Linked DNA regions of Homo sapiens: regions 2, 3, 4 and 5 are each linked to region 1. Evidence: promoter capture Hi-C in 16 types of primary human blood cells and fetal thymus (Javierre and others, 2016). All regions are on one chromosome and are shown on one strand. Each heading gives the region's core, a stretch centred on a gene start or on the middle of the fragment in contact. The rest is flanking DNA. Distances are from core to core; before and after follow the strand shown. Region 1 holds the start of SDK1 (sidekick cell adhesion molecule 1). Region 2 overlaps SDK1 (sidekick cell adhesion molecule 1). Region 3 overlaps SDK1 (sidekick cell adhesion molecule 1). Region 4 overlaps SDK1 (sidekick cell adhesion molecule 1). Region 5 overlaps SDK1 (sidekick cell adhesion molecule 1).

Region 1 (2,878 bases), core at 32-2,531:
AGGGGGCAGATGGGAGGCCTCTTTCTGAAACCACCTCCTGTTCGGCGGCTGTACTTGGACCTCAGTTTCCCTGTTTTGTTCACGTGGTCATTGTTAAGTCTTAGGGGACGTGTACAGAGGCTAATATTGAGCCACCAATCAGTTATTTGACAAATACCATAGGCGCTCTGTGAGCAGGAGCTGGCTCCTATCCCAGACCCCAGCCCTGTGACCTGCTCTCCACTCGCCCGGGGTCTTTCTTGGCTGGGACAATAAACCTACTGCATCAGGTGATTCCTGGGGAGTCAGCCCCGTGCTGGGCTCACACCCAGCCCCTCTGCGTTCATCTCTTACATGATCTCATGCGACCATCATCACACGTCCCCAGGCTCCTCCCGGGCCAACTCCAGAGGCAGTGCGTGTCACCTCCAGCTCTCCTCCCACAAAAATGCTGGCCTTTCAGCCTCCAGTGCGCTTAGTTCACCCCATAAACTCTGCTAATGCTTACCACATGCTGAGCGTCGGCGCCCGTCCCCACCCCCAGCCCCACAGGCTCCCGGGTCCCGCCCTGGGAGACCCTCCCACTGGCCGACCCTGCCCCAAGACTCGCCCACTCCACGGTGGGAAACCTGCAATGTGTCCCTCCCTACCCCGCCCTCCTCCAGCGCCGGCCAAAAGTGACCTTGGACGCTTCTACAATGCCATATCCACTCCTCTGAACAGGAGGCGAGTTTGCACCCAGTGGTGCCTTTGGTTGCTAGAAATTAAAAACCCGATTGCGCGTGTTTGCAATTACGGTAACTTGGCGCGTCACCCCCAAGCACTGAGCTAGCTGGTGGTAGCCGGGCGCCTCTCGGGGCGCGCCCTATTCCGCCCTCGGCCCTGGGCTGCCGCACGATCTGCGCGTCCTGCTGCACCTGAGCCCTTCCCACTCGGGCGCCCGCACCGCTGCGGGGCCGGGCGAGGATGCACCACCCCCGCCCGCGAGCCCGCCACGGGAGCGCGTGCCGAATCGACGCCGCCTGCAGTCCCCACTACGGGTCCCTAGGGGGCGCAGCCGGCGCGGGAAGCCGCCCGAGCCAGGCGCCGCGGCCGGCACAAAATTGCAGGCGGGCGGGCGCCGCGACTTTGAAAACAAGCGAGGGCCTGGGGGGCGGGCCCTGGGAGCGGGCGCCGCCTCCCTCGGCCAATCAACGGCGGGCGGCGGGCGGCGGGCGCGGGCGGCGCGTGCGGCCGGGCTGTGAATGGGGAGCGGCGGCCGCGGCAGCTGAGGGCGAGCGCGACCGCGACGTGCGGGCGGGCGCACTTTCTTCTCAGCGCCGGGCGGGGGCGGCGGCGGCGGCGGCTCCTCCGCGCCCGGCGGACCCCTCGGAGCTAGCGCGGCGGGCTCGGGACTGCGTGAGCGCCGGACGCGAATTTCCCCCGTTGACAACTTCTTCTCGCCCGGCTCGTCCCCGGCCCGCGCCGCGCCCCTCACGCGGGGACCCAGGACGCCGCCCCTCAGCGCTGGGCGGCCGCTCACCTCGGGCCGGGGGGCGCCGCGCCTCCCGCGGAGTGGCCGCGCCCGCTCGGAGCCGTCCCGCCTGTCCTGCCCGCCCGTCCGTCCGGCGCGGCGCTCGGGGTGGCGGCTGCTCGGCATGGCCCGGGGCGCCCGGCCCTCGGCGGCCGGTGGCGGCGGCGGCGGCGCGGAGCCCCCTGAGCGCGCGGGCCCCGGGCGGCCGCGGGGATCCCCGCCCGGCCGCGCCCGCCCCTCGCTGGCGCCGCGCCCCGGCCCGGAGCCCTCGCGACCCCGGGCGGCGCCCGAGACCTCCGGCGGGGACACGGCGGGCGCGGGGCGGTGCGGCGGGCGGCGGGCGGCAAAGTTGGGGCCGGGCCGCCGCGGCTGGTGGGCGCTGCTGGCGCTGCAGCTGCACTTGCTCCGGGCGCTGGCGCAAGGTAGGTGCGCGCGGGGTCGCGGGCCGGGGGCGTCGCCTCGGGGCGCGGAGGCGCGAACTTGAGCAGCGAGAGTGTGTCCGGGGTCCCCCCGCTTCCCGGCCCGGGTCGGGATGCGCCTTGCTGGGGGCTCTAGGGAGCCCAGGGGCTCCTCCACGCCAGACTCGGAGGAGAGGGAAACGGAGCCCCGTAGAGCCTGCACCCCGTCTGCTACTTTGCGTTTTATTTTTTTTATACCGCAGTAGCACAAACAAAAATTTTTAAGTTGAGGACCCATTTCTCAGCTCCTTAAAAGGATGCCCGAGTCCCCTTCCCATTGCATGGATGAAAAAGGGGCTGGTCTGTACCTGAGTCTTCGCACCGCAGGGTCTGGTTTCCGGTGAGTGACATCCAGAAGACTTGGAAATATCAAGTGCCAGTCGCTGTGAAAAGCCTTTTCCAGCCCCTCCCCAGGGCCTCGTCCTCTCCCCAGCCCCCGCCTGCTCCTGACTCCCCCAAGTCCCAAAGCCCGACCCCAAGTGGGTGCTGCGCGGCCGGTGGAGCAAAACTTTCAGTGCCCACAGCTTTTGCACTTGGCTTTGTTTTTCTCCCTCTATTGGCTTCTGTTTAGAATACAGTGGTGAGCTCTGAAATAGGGAAAGAGGATCTGCTGAATGGAAATGACCTTTTGAAACGAGAGATGGGATCTCTTGTGAAACGAGCTTTCCTTCCCAAATCTGGGCTTCCCTCCACCCCCTCCCCGCCCCCGACAAAACCCGTAACGTACCCCTGCCAGCTAGCATCGTTTTCTTTTGAAGTTTGCTGGTCTTTAAACCAAAACACCCCCCTCAACCCAGAAATAACTATTTTAATACGTCCTTTGGTAACGTCTTTAAAACACATTAGTGAACTGGTTTTGCTGATGGTAGTTTTAGGAAAATTAACTTAGTTGTATTCCAAGATACAGCTAACGAACAATCATGGTAAG
Region 2 (2,700 bases), core at 130-2,629, 590 kb after region 1:
TTGCTGTGGTTAAAAAAAAAAAAAAGTAGCGGGTGTGGTAGCTCGTGCCTGTAATCCCAGCACTTTGGGAGGCTGAGGCAGTCGGATCACCTGAGGTCAGGAGTTCGAGACGAGCCTGGGCAACATGGTGAAACCCTGTCTCTACTAAAAATACAAAAATTAGCCAGGTGTTGTGGTGGGTGCCTGTAGTCCCACTTACTTGGGAGGTTGAGGCAGGAGAATCGCTTGAACCCAGGAGGGGGAGGTTGCAGTGAGCCGAAAGCACTCCAGCCTGGGTGATATAGCTAGAATCCATCTCAAAACACCATTTATTTTTCACTATGGGTCTACCAGTTGGCTGTGGCTTCACTGGGCCCAACCAGGCCAGCCTAACCTTAGCTGGGCTCTATGTGTTTTACATTTTGGGACCCAGGCTCTGGTGGAGCCATCACTGTCTAGAGCACATCCTTCAAGCACCGGAATAGAACTGGAAACACAGTAGAGACTCAAAGACAGGATAAGCCCAGTGGTACTTCCACTGGGAAAGAGGATGGGGGAGGCCCCACAGTCCACAGCAGTCCTAGTGTCCTGCTGGGCAAATATTTCAAGGACCCGTAGGCTGGGAGTAGGGGGTGTCGATTGGGCCTCAGTCGTGCTCCCGGGGAGGACTTTCCAGGCCGTGGTTTTCGTGGCTCTGAATCTGCCCTCTGCCAGGTGCACTCTTCTGTCATCCTCCATGGCTACCTCTGAGGAAGGTGCTGGAAGACATGCTCTCCTTCATGGCTGAGCAGATTTCTTAACCTGCTTCCTGCCCATAGGAAGGATGAATGCCGAGGATCGTTTTAGATCTCAAATGCCACGGTCTATGTTAATCCAGCCGAAAGTGTAGTTATCGATTTGTCCCTTTTGAAGCTGTCCTGTTTGTTTTTAATCTCTTTGATTCCGGTCAACCCCGTGTGCCTACAGTCATTTTTCGTGCATGTCCTCCTTTCTCTAAACTCAATTCCAAGTACACTGAGCACATCATGCTTCCAACAGGCCAAATTCTGGGTCTCTTTCTCTAGGCCATTTTGTGCAGTTGAAAGATTTCATTGGGGACCTTGATAATCCAACTAAAGGTTTCGGCGCAAGAGCCAATGATTGCATCTTTGATTTGGTCTTTACCCGTAGGCTGTGCTTTCACGGCCAACCTTAATTTGGTGAGAAATTGCTTCACTTTAAAATCCTGAAAATGTTGTATTTTCTCTCTTCCCTTTCAATTGTATTTGCAAAGCAGTGAGTTTTTTGGGAGGAGGCAAGGTGCATTTTTTTTTCCTTATAGCACGGTGTCAAAGGCATTCTATAACACCAGTTCACACAGGCAAGATTCTGTTTTGAAAACAAGTTTAGTTAGGCCAATTTTCTAAGTTATCATAGGTTATTTCTTTTTTCTTTTTCTTTTTTTGCCGGGTGTTTTAACACTGCATATCTTGGGTTGCCATTTTTCCAACTTCCTTTAACAACTTTCCAGCTTGCCATCACCTAAACCCAAAACCAATGACCCATATTTCAGGTTTTTGTAATGGCAGCCCTACTTCTGTGTACCAATTTCTGTATTAGCTTTTGCTGCAGTAACTAGCAATTCTCAAATCTCCATGGCTTCCAACAACAAACACTTATTTTTCACTTAAGAATCCTGCGAGTCAGCTGCAGCTCTGCCGAGCTTGGCTGTGTTCTCCACGTCTCCTCATGCCAGGCTGAGGCTGAATGAGCAGCTGCCATCTGGGCCCTGCTCTTCTCATGCTGGAGGGCAGGAGCTCCGGAGGGGAAGCGGGAACCCCCAGGATCTCATAAAGCCTCTGCTGGGACCTGGCAGCCGTCCCCTCCTCCCACAAGTCATATGGCAAGCCCAAGGTTAATGGGGTGAGCCTGTACCCTTCACCTCCTGGCAAGTCACGATGAGGAGAGGGCAGAGACAAATCATTTTGAACAAGTGATACAGTCTCTCACAGGCATAGATTCCAAAAAGAAACCCAGGAGAGAGTCACCATGCCTCAAATCAAGAACAGCCATATTGCATTTCTATCAAGGCAGAAGCACAGGTGTGACAGTGTGACAATGAACCCTGAGACCGGAGGCCCTCCAGTCCAGGTGGACATCCAGCTATGCAGCCAGCTCAGTGCAGCCGAAAGAACCTGGGAGGCAGTCCGGAAAGCTGAGTTCCTCTTACCCGTATCCCTGCAGCAAGCCACTTTCCCTCTGTGGATCTCAAGTTCCTCTTCAATATTAACCAAGAGTTAAGCAGAATCGTGGGTTGCTTTCGAGGATGCCGTTCTGATCTCTGCCAGCGCACTTCACATGGCAGGGAACAGGCTGCCTTCCCAGGAGGCCGAGCTGCAGTAGAAGGAGCATGAGTTTAGGAATCAGGCCAATTTGAGCGGGAAGCCCAGGCAGCCGTTTACCAGGTGTGGGTCCATCATATACCCTCTGACTCTGTTTCCTCATCTGTGAAGTGAACATCACAGCATCTAACTCTCAGGGCTGTGGGTAGGATAATTATTTTATACAGTGCCTTTTGCTAGGAAATTTTTTGTTGTGTTGAGTCAAAATCTGATCCCTTAACCAGTGAACTCCGGCCCCGGTTCTGCCTCTGCCTGGGGCAGCAAAACAGTGATTAGGAATATGGGCACGGGGGTCATCCCACCTGGGTCTGAATCGCACTGTCTGCTCCTGGTCAGGATG
Region 3 (2,924 bases), core at 285-2,784, 570 kb after region 1:
ACATATGTGATATCAGCAGTGATACCATATTCCACTCGAATATTGTAGTTGTGCCTTCTCTTTTTTCTTAATTAGCCTGCCTAGAAATTTACTGCTTTTATTGAAATTTTCAAAGAGTAGCTTTTGGTTTCACTGATTTAATGCCTTTTTTCTGAAAACTTTCATCATGGATGCTATAGAGTTCACAATATACATTTAAAAATCTGAATCTACCTCCACATAATGCTATGCTGCTTCACACGGAGTATAAGGACCTTATAACAGTGTATTTCTAATTCCCCTCTCCCATTCCTTCTACTATTATTGTCATACATTTTACTTTTACATACAGTATCAACACACCAGATATTTTTACTATTACAGCTTTAACCAGTCAGTAATCTTTTAGAGAACTTAAAAATAAATAATTTTAATTTACCTTCCTTTATTCCATTTATGATGCTTTTCATGTCTTCGTATTTATCCCAGTCTCTGACCTATATCATACTCCTTTTGCCTGAAGAATTTTCTTTAATGTTTCATGAAGAGTATGTCTACTGGCAGTAAATTCCATGAGATTTGTTTTTGTCTGAAAAGTCTTTCTTTCTCCTTCACTTTTAGAGGATATTTTTACTGGGTGTAGAATCCTGTATTGAGATGTTTTTCTTTAAACATTTGATGTAATTCCACTGTTTTCTTGTTTGCATGAGTTCTGCCAAGAAGTCTGCTATATTTCTTATCTTGCTCCTCTGTAGGCAATATGTCTTTTTTTCCTCTGGCTTCCTTAAATATTTTTTATTTGTCCCTTCTTTTTCAGTAGTTTGAATATCATAACTAGATGTAGAGTTTGTGTTTTGTTTTGTTTTGTTTTGCTGCTTGATGTCCTCTAAGCTTTGATGATTTGGTGTCTGTCACTAATTTTGGAAAATCCTAGCCCATTATTTTTTCAGCCATTTCTTCTGTCCCTTCTGTTTTTCTTTCTGATTTTATAATTCCAATTATGTATATGTTAGGCTGTTTGATATTCTTCCACAGTGCTTGCATGCTCCATTTAGTTTTGTTTGCCTTGTTTTTTCTCTTTGCATTTCAGATTGATTAATTCCTATTGACCCATCTTCAAGTTCAGTAGTCTTTTCAAGTCTGCTCATGAGCCCATCAAAAGCATTTTTAATCTAAATACTGTTTTTCTGATTTCTATCATTTCCATTTAATTCTTTTTCACTTAATTATTTTTATAGTTTCCATTTTTGTGTGAAATTACCCGTCTGATCCTATATGTTATTTACTATTAGAGCCTTTAACATATTAGCTATAGTTGTTTTAAATTCTTTGTCTGATAGGTCCAAGATACATGTCATGTCTGAGTCTTCTTCTGATCATTGTTTTGTCTCTTTGTGGAGTATTTTTCCTTGCTTTTTTTCATATGCCTCATAATAGTTTTGTTGTTGTTGAAAGCCTGTTATGTCATATAATAGGACAGTAGACACTGAGGTCAATATTTTGTGTGGTTGGAGATGAGCATGCTTTTCTTTCCACTGGGCCATTAATATGAAGGTTTTTGTTCGTTTGGTCAGAGATTTGGCTAGGTTTAAAGTTTATCATTGCCATGGTTACCCTCATTCTACTCGAGGCCTAAGTTTCTCTAGTGGAATCATGTGTTCATAGCATGGGATAATTTTTCAGACTTGTCTCCGTATCTGCTCCCCATTTGTCTTTTGAGTTTCCCTGACTTGACTTTGAGTCTTCTCTTTGCACTGGTCCCCTCAGGGAATCTGCTTCTTGCAGCTCCCCTGCTGTATCCTTCAATTATGTTTGCTTAGTGCTTTTGAGTGTGTGCAGGTCATGTGTGTGCAGGGATTGAGGGCATTCTTTTCTGTTCTGATTAAGCCTCAGGCTTAGGCAGGTGCCTGTGAATCTGGGGCCTGAGGCTGTAGTCCTGACAAGTGTTCCTGCTCCTTCCCTACCTGTCATGCTGGGCCTAGCATATATTCCCGCCTCCCTTCCAGGGGTAGAACTCCTTCTCCACCCCCGTTCCCCTGCCCTATCTGCAGTGCGATCCCACCCCTGCCCTCATGCTACAGTTTTTGTTTTGTTTTTTGCTCTTTCTCCTGCATAGTAAGGCTTTCATTCCTTAGGGAAGATGGGGGTGATGAGTGTGTGCAGAGTTTGGTGGTAGCTACCATTTCTTTCTGACCACAGTAAGATTCTAGCAGTGCCTTAAAGCTTTAGTTTTTTGTCCTTCACCCTATAGATTAAAGCTTTTGTTCTTCCAGGAACATAGGGGAGATACGTCTCAGGAGAGTTTTGGCAGAGGTGCCTGTTCTTCCCCCACATCCAGCACCAAGTGGGGGAAGCTGTCTTAGGTTTCTCATTGAGCTGCCCTGAGAGCACCCTTTAGGGTTCCTGGAGGAAAATCCTACTCTAGGCTCTTAACCCCTTTATGTCCTGGTCTGTGGGGCTTTATACACGCTCACTAGCCCATACTTGGCCTTAGGCAGTTTATTCAGACTTCTAGTTGAATCTTCCTATGGGCTTATAGTGAGTTCAAGGTGTCTGTCCCAGATAAGCAAATGGTTGGGTCTGTTTCTCCCTGGAAATGTCTATCTCTTTCTGGATTTTCTAGGTTTTGAGTTAGTTTTTTCCCTGTACCCTTGGTTCTCTGACAGAGTCAAGAAAAGTCATTAGTCTGCACTTCGTCCAGCATTTTTCCTGTGGTAAGAGTGAGAGCAATGTTCTTTCCAGCTCTCTACCTCTAGGAGCTGAAAGCACAAGTTTGCTGTAGCCAGTTTCTGCCACTTACCTTTTAAGTCACTCTCAGAAAACCAAATCGTTCTTTAGTTCCTTTAATACCCAAGATAATCCCCAGATCACAAATTAAACTGTTTAGTCCCACATAGAGGAAAGGCTCTCGGAGCGAGTTTTTGCCTCTCCTATGCAATCGTGTG
Region 4 (2,700 bases), core at 128-2,627, 560 kb after region 1:
CTTAAGAATGTGGAAATCTGTGCTGCCTTTCAAGGGTCAAAATGAAGTGAAGACTATAAGACTTTTTCAGACATTCACAGTCTCTAAAGCTTCAATTAATGAATGGTGAAAGAATTAATAAATGATGTACTCCAGCAGTAAAAAAGCTGCATAAAAATGAATAATAAAGAATTTACTGAAACTTACTGTTAAATCTAAATGTTTATTATTGATAGCATTAATACAGAACTAACATTCCAAGAGTTATCAACCAGAGATTTTGGAAGACTGGGGAGAAGAGAGATGTGGAGTAAGGGAGGAATAAAGAAAATGCATACTAATTTTCTTATCTTGCTCAAGGGAAGGATATGCTTATTGATTCAGTCTAGATACAAGGAAAAAGTAAGTTTCTGTAAATGTTAAAAATTTAAGGGTAGCTAGTAGAAGAATAGAAACTGAATTCATGACTTCCAAACTACTGGAGAAAAAAATAATGTAAATCTGATCAAGAAAATATATGAAAAGAGGGTTTAAAAAATGAAACAACCTAGAATTTTGGCAAAATAAGTGCATAAAATATCAGGTAGTTCAAATAGATTAATAATCTCAGTAAATGTGACTAATTTTGACTAACAAGACTAACTTCAACCCAACTCTAAAGGACAGAGCCTTTCAGGTAATGTTAAAAAAAAAAAAAAAAAAAAAGCAGCTGGCCGGGCATGGTGGCTCACGCTTGCAATCCCAGTACTTTGGGAGGCCGAGGCAGGTGGATCACCTGAGATCAGGAGTTCAAGACCAGCCTGGCCAACATGGTGAAACCCCATGTCTCCTAAAAGTACAAAAATTAGCCAGGCATGGTGGCGGGCACCTGTAATCCCAGCTAGTCAGGAGGCTGAGGCAGGAGTGTCGCTTGAACATGGGAGGCGGAGATTGCAGTGAGCCGAGATCACACCACTGCACTCTAGCCTGGGCAACAAGAGCGAAACTCCACCTCGAAAAACAGCTATGTTATATGCTACTTATAGGATATAAATTTTTTAATTGCATAGTATGAAAACATGTCAAACATTAACCATGTTGATTAGGTTGAGCAACATTAATATAAGAAAACTTAGAATTCAAGGTAAACAGTGTTAAAAGGGACAAAGAGGGATATTTCCTGCTGAAAAGGAAGGCTCTACCAAGAAATTACAAGGCATAATCAGTATACCATAACCAAGTAGATTGAATCCCCGAAAATGTAAGGATGGTTCAGAATTACACTATGAAAAAATCAACTCCTATTAACTGAAAAAAATTACTCTTAGTCACCTGGGTATAGAGGGAAAACTTATCTAAATAGAGGAAATCTAACAAAAATCTACTGGAAACAACATACTGATAAATTATTAGAAGCATTAAGTTTGAAGTCTGAATCTGGGGAAAGATGTCTACTATTAACATTGTACTCAGGACACAGTCAGTGCAGCAGGACAAAATGGAAGGGGAAGGAGGAGGAGAAAGGGGAAAAAGAAACTGAAAAGAAAAAGGTATAGATATTAGAAAAAGAGCAAACTGTCATTATTTCAGGCAATATGATTACTTGCGTAGAAAACCTAAGACAGGCTGGGTGTGACGGCTCACACCTGTAATCCCAGCACTTTGGGAGGACATGGCAGGGGGATTGTTTGTGCCCAGGAGTTCAAGACCAGCCTTGGCAACATGGTGAGACCCCATTTCTACAAAAAATAATAAAAGAAATTAACCACGTGTGGTGGTGCATGCCTGTAGTTCCAGCTTCTTGAGAGGTTGAGGTGGGAGGATTGCTTGAGGCCAGAAGGTCAAGGCTGCAGTGATCTATGATGGCACCACTGCACTCCAGCCTGGCCGACAGAGTAAGACCCTGTCTCAAAAAAAAAAAATGAAAGAAAACCTAAGATAATAAACTGAATATTAGGATTAATGAGAGTTCTGAAGGGTGGCTAGATAGAAGATAGATATGGAAAAATTCTTTTTCCTGTTCATCAGGAATAAGAGAAATTTAATAGAAATACAGTAAAATAGGAACATACCATTCACTGTAGCAAGCAAAGCTATTAAATATTTTTGAATAAACTGATCAAGAAATAGTTAAGAATCTATAGAACTTTAATGACGATTTTTAAAAGGAACAAATAGTGTGATATACCATATACATGGATGGAAAGACTCAATTATGTAAAGTTGTCACCTCTCCCCAAATCTATAAATTCGGTAAATCATGAAACTTGTCAAGATGATTCTGAAGTTAATATGGAAGCCTTAATAATGAATGGTTTAAACCATAGTATATTCATGCTATGGAATACAATGGATTAGTTAAGGATAATGAGGTAAATTTGTACATATGAGAATGGCTACACCTCCAAGATACGTTTTTGTGTGGTGAAAAGAGAAAATTGCTAAACAGTACATATAATATGATATCATTTTTTTAAAAAAACACAAAAGATAAGTCAGGCACCGTGGCACATGCCTGTAATCCCAGCTACTCAGGAGGCTAAGAGCGGGAGGATTGCTGAGCCCAGGAGTTCAAAACCACCCTGGGCCACATAGTGAGACCCCATCTCAAAAAAACAAAACTGCAAAACAATACTTTATATATTTTATTACTACATGTATATACATCTAAGTGAATTCAAAAAATACCCAGGAAAAAAAAATCACAAGAAGCTTAACTTCCTTTCTGGAAAGGAAGGATGA
Region 5 (2,700 bases), core at 186-2,685, 610 kb after region 1:
GAATCATGCTATAATCTAGTGCAGGGTGCAAATATGTGACCTGAGGGAGCTGGATAAAGTACTCACCTTGCTGTGGAGACGTTTGACTTGCACCTGGAAGGATGACTCAGAGCAGAGATGAGGTGGGGGAGGGCATTCTAGGGAAGGGGCCAACTTGAGCAAGAGCTTGTAGGTGCGGGGGCGTGCAGGGCAAGGGGGCCCTGTTCACTTAGAACAAAGGATCGGCCAAGGAAGTCTGGGAAACAAACCAAACTACAGAGGAGCTTGAGCAGAGTCGAAGTTTATTTTGTTCCCTCGTTGAAGGTTTAAAGCCGAGGAGCTACGTGATGAGCGCTGTGTTTTAGGAAGAGGACTCCGTAATAGAGAGGATGAGCCAGTGGATCCATTTCTAAATGTGTTTCTTAGGCTATAGGAGGAGGAGCTTTCTTTATTTATTCCAAAATTTGCTTTCAGATGCTAATGCGTGTATTGTGAACTCTGAGAAGAGAGAGTTCCAAAATGTATTTGACCACAAAACCTCTTTTTCACGGTAACTGGTGCACAGTAGGCACTCAGTGTTTTTGCATGACCAAATAAGCAAGTACAACACCAGCGTGCCACAGAGTGTGGTTCAAGAAACATTGCATTCTGTGAGGCGCTGAAGCAAGAAGAAAGGCCAGTGAGAGGCTTTGATATTTATCCGGGGAAGAGGTACTGATTGCTCAAGCTAAGCTTCAGTGGACTGAAGATAGGGAAGCCAACCACCCACAACTCCTCCAAATACCTCCCTCTCCCAGGCAGGCATGGCTGGGGCACCCGCTTCTGGGCTCTCCTGCCCCCTGGGCCCACCCCACGGATGGCTTTTCATGCATTTACTTATCATTCTCCTCTGGCAGAGACCGGCACGGTCTGGCCCGTGGGGGCTCAAGACAGTTGACAGAAGGAAGAGGAAGGAGACCTAAGGGACTTGGCAGCTGGGTGGAGAAGAAGACCCGATTTCTTTATTTATACATGGACTTGCTTGAAAAAGATTTCTAGTCCTTAACCAAAAAAAAGTGCAGTGACCTTTCCACTACGACATCTGTTCCCACGAGATGCAAGTCACAGTTTTCATGTAAGGGCTCAAAGCAACCGTGGAGGGCCGAAGGCAAGCAAGATGTGGATCAGGCTCTTGTTTTTCTCTTCTCTTCATCTTCCCCTCCCCTTCTAAAGTGAGAGCTTGTGATTAAGGAGGGTTTAATGACAGGGAAAACAGTTAAAATGAAGAAGGAGTTGCCTGAAGGAAGCATCTGGGAGGTGGGCAGAGCAAGGGGTACCGGGGGCCCTGCCATGAAGCCTTCAGGGCATCGGTATGGAAATGCCTCCAGCTCCTGGCTCGCGCTAAGCGTACCTGGTTCTCTAGATGGCTCCCGGTCTTCTTGCCTCCTGGCCCTTCCCTCTCCCCTCCTCTGACCTTTCTCTTACACTTATCTTTTTTTTTTTTTTTTTTTGAGATGGAGTCTCGCTCTGTCACCCAGGCTGGAGTGCAGTGGCACGATCTCGGCTCACTGCAACCTCCGCCTCCCAGGTTCACGCCATTCTCCTGCCTCAGCCGCTCGAGTAGCTGGGACTACAGGCGCTCGCCACAACGCCCAGCTAATTTTTTGTATTTTTGGTAGAGATGGGGTTTCACTATGTTAGCCAGGATGGTCTCGATCTCCTGACGTCGTGATCCACCCGCCTCGGCCTCCCAAAGTGCTGACATTACAGGCGTGAGCCACCGTGCCCGGCCCTGTTACACTTATCTTTATTCCCCTCATCCATTCTTTTCTCTGGACTATGTTAGTGCTCTGGTAACATCCTTTCCCTCATTCAATCCCAACTCTCCTAAACCCCCTTGAGTATGTTCACCAGTGGTTTATTGACATCCATCTATTCTTGTTCTCTCCAAGCCCAGCAAAAATAAGAAAACATATTTTGGGGTAGACAGATGCTGACCCCTGACAATTTCTCTTTGATTTTCCTCCACATTTTCTCTTTATTTTTTGCTTCACTAACCTTTAAGCCAGAGTAAATAAAAATGACTGGAGATGACTGATTTGCCCCAGATTACACATTAAGTTAGTGGTGATACTAGCGCCAGGGCCCAGGGCTGACTCTGCTATACCATACTCCCTTCCCTGATGGTGCCTGCTTTTCTGAAAGCTTCTTGCCCTATTATAAAGGAAGAAGCATCTACTCCAGATGTTGAAAAAGGTAAGGAGCGGTTATGAAGGCCCAGCCCTGGGGATAGCTTAGCATTTTGCATTTAGTGCAAACCCATTTGCAGCTTTTCCTCATATTTGGTTGAAAGCATTTGCATTATACAGTTCATTTATGCCTTTATCATAATTAGGTGCAAGTTGCTGCTGCAATATGCTTGTCTGCATTATTACCGTACTTGCCTATTTTCATTCCTGCTCATCCTACGTTATTGTGTCTTACTGGGTTCATGTCAAATCTTTTCAATGTGTATAATATTCTGCTTTCGGAAATCAGGAGGGGGCAAAGATTGTTATGTCAAAAATTCAGAGAAAATGAAGAAATGTGTGTACATGTGCACATATAGAGAGAAACTGCATTGAAATCACAGCGAGATTGTGGCAGAAATGAGAAAACCTAAGATTAACGGCTTAGAGGGTTTTTATGCTCCTGGAACTCAGAAATGGTATGTTTGCAGTTGCTGCACAAACATGGTCTAAT

Evidence for each region. The method cuts DNA at HindIII sites, captures the fragments that hold promoters and counts their contacts. A CHiCAGO score of 5 or more calls a contact.
Region 2: a fragment that was not itself captured here is called in contact with the fragment with the promoter of SDK1 in region 1 in 14 of 17 cell types (activated CD4 T cells, naive CD8 T cells, non-activated CD4 T cells and 11 more); the score reaches 27.2 in activated CD4 T cells.
Region 3: a fragment that was not itself captured here is called in contact with the fragment with the promoter of SDK1 in region 1 in 7 of 17 cell types (activated CD4 T cells, naive B cells, non-activated CD4 T cells and 4 more); the score reaches 8.6 in activated CD4 T cells.
Region 4: a fragment that was not itself captured here is called in contact with the fragment with the promoter of SDK1 in region 1 in 3 of 17 cell types (total B cells, non-activated CD4 T cells and activated CD4 T cells); the score reaches 5.3 in total B cells.
Region 5: a fragment that was not itself captured here is called in contact with the fragment with the promoter of SDK1 in region 1 in 8 of 17 cell types (M0 macrophages, M1 macrophages, non-activated CD4 T cells and 5 more); the score reaches 9.1 in M0 macrophages.

The regions. Positions count from the first base shown.
Region 1 is chr7:3,299,971-3,302,848 of GRCh38, forward strand. It overlaps SDK1 (sidekick cell adhesion molecule 1), which reads left to right and starts at 1,282. Exons shown (of 45, transcript NM_152744.4): 1 at 1,282-1,914. The coding sequence starts at 1,617. It overlaps SDK1-AS1 (SDK1 antisense RNA 1), which reads right to left. Exons shown (of 3, transcript XR_001744897.3): 1 at 2,259-2,878. RefSeq lists enhancers at 1-361, 362-873, 1,583-2,083 and a silencer at 759-1,308. The HindIII fragment of the contact is 8,975 bases long and covers 1-2,878 here.
Region 2 is chr7:3,890,634-3,893,333 of GRCh38, forward strand. All of the region lies in intron 5 of SDK1 (sidekick cell adhesion molecule 1), which reads left to right. Among named protein-coding and RNA genes, the nearest start is that of SDK1-AS1, 540 kb to the left of the region's middle. The HindIII fragment of the contact is 3,141 bases long and covers 1-2,700 here.
Region 3 is chr7:3,872,596-3,875,519 of GRCh38, forward strand. The region is part of intron 5 of SDK1 (sidekick cell adhesion molecule 1); the gene reads left to right. Among named protein-coding and RNA genes, the nearest start is that of SDK1-AS1, 520 kb to the left of the region's middle. The HindIII fragment of the contact is 1,332 bases long and covers 869-2,200 here.
Region 4 is chr7:3,855,819-3,858,518 of GRCh38, forward strand. All of the region lies in intron 5 of SDK1 (sidekick cell adhesion molecule 1), which reads left to right. Among named protein-coding and RNA genes, the nearest start is that of SDK1-AS1, 510 kb to the left of the region's middle. The HindIII fragment of the contact is 2,581 bases long and covers 88-2,668 here.
Region 5 is chr7:3,911,843-3,914,542 of GRCh38, forward strand. The region is part of intron 5 of SDK1 (sidekick cell adhesion molecule 1); the gene reads left to right. Among named protein-coding and RNA genes, the nearest start is that of SDK1-AS1, 560 kb to the left of the region's middle. RefSeq lists an enhancer at 1-262. The HindIII fragment of the contact is 1,452 bases long and covers 710-2,161 here.